2 separate regions of the Homo sapiens genome follow, and region 2 is linked to region 1. The links are contacts of gene promoters, found by promoter capture Hi-C in human tissues and cell types (Jung and others, 2019). All regions are on one chromosome and are shown on one strand. Each heading gives the region's core, a stretch centred on a gene start or on the middle of the fragment in contact. The rest is flanking DNA. Distances are from core to core; before and after follow the strand shown. Region 1 holds the start of ATG14 (autophagy related 14). Region 2 has its middle 120 kb from the start of TMEM260.

Evidence for each region. Contacts are between HindIII fragments. The study calls those that stand out against the background at their distance.
Region 2: a contact is called between a fragment that was not itself captured here and the fragment with the promoter of ATG14 in region 1, in 1 of the 25 tissues and cell types used here (dorsolateral prefrontal cortex).

The regions. Positions count from the first base shown.
Region 1 is chr14:55,410,552-55,413,251 of GRCh38, forward strand. It overlaps ATG14 (autophagy related 14), which reads right to left and starts at 1,279. Exons shown (of 10, transcript NM_014924.5): 1 at 1,051-1,279. The coding sequence starts at 1,271. It also overlaps a transcript of FBXO34 not described here. RefSeq lists a silencer at 1,269-1,568. The HindIII fragment of the contact is 14,251 bases long and covers 1-2,700 here.
Region 2 is chr14:56,453,891-56,456,590 of GRCh38, forward strand. No RefSeq gene overlaps it. Among named protein-coding and RNA genes, the nearest start is that of TMEM260, 120 kb to the right of the region's middle. The HindIII fragment of the contact is 3,696 bases long and covers 1-2,700 here.

The DNA of each region.
Region 1 (2,700 bases), core at 29-2,528:
GAAAGAACTCCATCCACGATCACAGAAATACTAAGAACTCAAAACATTCCCAAATATAGAGGATATAAAGTCTAGTGGTTAAGTGCGGGTACATAGGTCCAAGCTGTCTGAATTTTAATTCTTGTACCAACACTTAACTATTTGTGTGACCTGGGGCAAAGCACTTACTGTGCAGCTTCCTAATAAGTTGGGGATAAGTCATTCGGTTGTTGCGAATGAATTAATACCTGAATTTTTGTGCTCAGAATGCTAGCTATCTTACTATCATTGACTATCATTGACACTAAATTGTTGAAACATAAGTTGAGAGTGGGAGATCCTGCAGCTAATCACACTAATTTTTCAATTTTCTTAACCAAGAACTTGTAGCTGTTTAGATTTCGAAATGAAACCAAAACATTTTCCTAAAGGCAATTCTCTTAACTAAAAGCATGCAGCTCCCAATCTGAATTTTAAAACAAGGCCAAAACACGTTCCCAAATTCCTAAGAATCTAAAATAATCTTTAGAGGCAGGGAGGGGAAAGGGGCGTTAACAGCAAGCCTCAATTCACACATTAGAGTAAGCATGTCTGATAACAAAGTCCATCTGTGACAGACTACCAGGCCCAAATCCCTCTAAAGCAGTTATTTGATTCTCTTCTACTCTCTCCTCTAGAGAATGAGTATAAATATGCTTTCGAAAATAGAAAGCCAAGCTTTTGAATGGGAGTACATACAGCAAAGAGCTGGGAATCTAACTTAATGGCAGCAACGGGAAAACTTCTCCAGAGAGTCACCACTTATTCCTTTTTTCCCCAGTGACCAAGAGCACCGTGGGGTCAAACTCCTCTTGGGTGGGTGATGGGGAAACGGCGACCTTCCCTCATCTGGCCCCTACGCTGTCCTCTGGTAGCAAAGCTCCGGTGCAGAGCAGCTAGCTACACTCCCTCTCTCTCGCTCCTCTCGCTGGTATCTGGTGCCCGGACGGGGAGCCCCAGGTTCCAGCCTTCGGCTGCCTGGCTGGAGGACACACAGCAGAAGAAACAATAGGGCCGTGGCGGCCGCCGTACCTCTCCCGGTCGCGGCCGTCGAAGTAGACGAAATCGCCGCTCTGAACGCATTTGGCGCAGGTCAGCCGCCGGCGGGTAGTGTTGCACAGCGGGCAGCGCTCCACAGCCACGTACAGCCCCTCCGCATCGTCCACGGAGTCCACCAGGTCCCGGGCGAGCGGCCGGGGCCCGCAGCCAGGAGCCTCCAGCGCCCGGGCTCCCTTCCCACTGGGAGACGCCATGATGGCCTGAGAGGAGAGCCAGTCACGTGGGATTTTGTTTTCAACCGGGTGCATTCTGGGCCAGGAGGAGGGGCCTGGGGAAGGGGGGCTGGGATGCCGGCGAGCCCCCGGACCCCTCCGCCGCCGCGTGTTCCTGTCCCGGGCACTGTTGTTTTTCCGGTCTGCTGAGGGGCAACAGGTCCCGAAGCAGGGGGAGAGTTATATTAGAGGGGCTAGTCGGCCAAACAAAATGTCATCTGCTGGCTCAGGCCAAGACTACGAGTTAAAGCCTCAAACTTGTGCAGAAAATTGTAATACCATACCCTAAGGATTCTGGGAAAACGGAATGGGAGCGGAATAAGGGAATTTAACTTGCTGTGGATGCTTTAAAATCTGGCTAAACTACAGCAAACAAAGTAGGGTGAAGGGGCTGGGTCTTGGAACTAGGTTGAATTTTGGCTCACTCACCTGCTTAATAGCTGTGTGACTTGGGGCAAGTTCCTTAATCTCTCTGCGCCTGTTCTCTCGTGTTAAATGGATAGAATTATAGTACCCATCTAATGCCGTGAGGATTAATATGGTTAATAGTATTATACTTTACCAATAGTGAAAACAACCAAAGTGAACGTGCAAAATCAGAATTGTATCCTTCTGAAAAGTTAATCACGTGGCTAACGTACCTTCCCTACCCTGGGCCATGCTCTAAGAGAATTTGAACTAGGTAGATGGTTAGGACTTCCCTTCAAGTTTCTTTTGGTGGATAGGGGATATATAAGGTGATGTGTTGGGAGGATCATATCAGAGTAATTAGTGTTTGAATATGCCTCTAAACTACAGAGAAAAGTGAGTTTATAGGTGAGATTAAATAGACCAGTGATTCTCAAGGATGATTTTACTAGGCTATCTACTGATAAACTGCCCTGAATTCTCTCTCTAGCCAGGATTCCTTTCTCAAGTTCCATACCCAAAGATCCAGAACTACTTACTAGGTATCAGGTGACATTCCAGGACACCACAAACTCAAAGTGTTGGAAACTGACTTCTGCCTCCCTACAAACCTGTTTTCTTACTTTGGTAAAGGACGTAATCACTGATGATTTACAGCCAAGAGCCATGATTCATATTAGCCCGTCCCTCCCTGTTAATCTCCACATCACCATCGAAAACTGGTGATTCTACAAGCTAATTAGGTCTTGAATCTGAGCCCTTTGCTCCTCCGTCTTCTTAATCTTACCCAGTCTTTTTAAATACAAATCACGTAGGATTACAAAAACAAGCAAAAGCAAAAATTCTCTATATTCAGAATACAGTTTACACTAAACTTGAATGGTTCCTGAAAGTTTAAGATTTATTTTTAAGTGAGAAGTCTTTCTCTCTGATCATTTCAAACAAAAGGATTATTTTTTAAGGTCTCGGGCTTATGTTTCATTTGTATTCAGACAGGATCCTT
Region 2 (2,700 bases), core at 12-2,511, 1.0 Mb after region 1:
TAAATATTCATTTTGGTATGTAATTTTGAACTTTTTCTTAAAGTGGGACCCCAAATTACATAAGTATAATGCCCCCAGAGAACTTGGACTGGCTTTTGTCTACCCCTCTTGCTCTGGTTCTTACTTGGATATGTGTGTCTGTACTGACCAAGCATTATCACCATTGTCACCATCCAGATTGTCATTATGTCCCTTGGCCCATGTCTGTTGCTTTTAACTTTTCAAAGAGCTATGGCATCTATATCTTAGATCCAATTTAGAGGCTGAGTGACCTGCAACATCTCCTAATTACGTAACCTCTGTGTGCCTTAGTTTTCTCATCTGTAAAATGGGGATAATCCTGGTACCTATTTTATAGGATTACTGTGAAGGTCAAATGAGTGAATAGACATAAAGTGCTTAGAACCATGCCTGGCACAAAGCAAGCACTGTGTAGGAGCTTGCTATTATTTTATTATGTAAATTTTTATATAAATATACATAATTATGTTAAAATTATTTTAATAGCAAGCTCCAAGGTAGTACTTGCTTTGTGCCAGGCATGGTTCTAAACACTTTATATCTATTCACTCACTTGACCATCACAGCAATCCTATAAAATAGGTACCAGGGGCTACAGCTCCCAGCATGAGCGATGCAGAAGATGGGTGATTTCTGCATTTCCAACTGAGGTACTGCGTTCATCTCACTGGGGCATGTCAGACAATGGGTGCAGTCCATGGAGTGTGAGCCGAAGCAGGGTGGGGCATCGCCTCACCTGGGAAGTGCAAGGGGTGGGGGGATTCCCTTTCCAAGCCAAGGGAAGCCATGACAGATGGTACCTGGAAAATTGGGACACTCCCACCCTAATACTGTGCTTTTCCAATGGTCTTAGCAAACAGCACACCAGGAGATTATATCCTGTGCATGGCTTGGAGGGTCCCACACCCATGGAGCCTTGCTCAATGCTAGCACAGCAGTCTGAGATCAAACTGCAAGGTGGCAGCGAGGCTGGGTGAGGGGCGTCCGCCATTGCTGAGGCTTGAGTAGGTAAACAAAGTGGCCAGGAAGCTCAAACTGGGTGGAGCCCACCTCAGCTCAAGGAGGCCTGCCTGCCTCTATAGACTCCACCTCTGAGGGCAGGGAATAGCTGAATAAAAGGCAGCAGAAACTTCTGCAGACTTAAACATCCCTGTCTGACAGCTTTGAAGAGAGCAGCGATTCTCCCAGCACAGAGTTTGAGATCTGAGAACAGACAGACTGCCTCCTCAAGTGGGTCCCTGACCCCCGAGTTGCCTAACTGGGAGACACCTCCCAGTAGGGGCCAACTGACACTTCATACAGCTGGGTGCCCCTCTGAGACAAAGCTTCCAGAGGAAGAATCAGGCAGCAACATTTGCTGTTCTGCAATATTTGCTGTTCTGCAGCCTCCGCTGGTGATACCCCAGCAGACAGGGTCTGGAGTGGACCTCCAGCAAATTCCAGCAGACCTGCAGCTGAGGGTCCTGACTGTTAGAAGGAAAACTAACAAAGAGCAAGGACATCCACACCAAAACCCCATCTGTACGTCACCATCATCAAAGACCAAAGGTAGATAAAACCACAAAGATGGGGAGAAACCAGAGGAGAAAAGCTGAAAATTCTAAAAATCAGAGCACCTCTTAGCCTCCAAAGGAAGGCAGCTCCTCGCCAGCAATGGAACAAAGCTGGATGGAGAATGACTTTGACGAGGTGAGAGAAGAGGCTTCAGATGATAGCTAATAACAAACTTCTCCAAGCTAAAGGAGGATGTTCAAACCCATCACAAAGAAGCTAAAAACCTTGAAAAAAGATTAGATGAATGGCTAACTAGAATAAACAGCATAGAGAACACCTTAAAGGACCTGATGGAGCTGAAAACCAGGGCACGAGAACTACGTGACGCATGCAGAAGCTTCAGTAGCCAATTCGATCAAGTGGAAGAAAGAGTATCAGTGATTGAAGATCAAATGAATGAAATGAAGAAAGAAGAGAAGTTTAGAGAAAAAAGAGTAAAAAGAAATGAACAAAGCCTCCAAGAAATATGGGACTATGTGAAAAGACCAAATCTGCATCTGATTGGTGTACCTGAAAGTGACGGGGAGAATGGCATCAAGTTGGAAAACACTCTTTAGGATATTATCCAGGAGAACTTCCCCAACCTAGCAAGGCAGGCCAACATTCAAATTCAGGATATACAGATAATACCACAAAGATACTCCTCGAGAAAAGCAACTCCAAGATATAATTGTCAGATTCACCAAAGTTGAAATGAAGGAAAAAAATATTAAGGGCAGCCAGAGAGAAATGTCGGGTTACCCACAAAGGGAAGCCCATCAGACTAATAGCGGATCTCCCAGAAGAGAGCGGGAGCCAATATTCAACATTCTTAAATAAAAGAATTTTCAACCCAGAATTTCATATCCAACCAAAGTAAGCTGCATAAGTGAAGGAGAAATAAAATCCTTTGCAGACAAGCAAATGCTGAGAGATTTTGTCACCACCAGGCCTGCCTTACAAGAGCTGCTGAAGGAAGCACTAAACATGGAAAGGAACAACTGGTACCAGCCATTGCAAAAACATGCCAAATTGTAAAGACCATGGATGCTAGGAAGAAACTGCATCAACTAATGAGCAAAATAACCAGCTAACATCATAATGACAGGATCAAATTCACACATAACAATATTAACCTTAAATGTA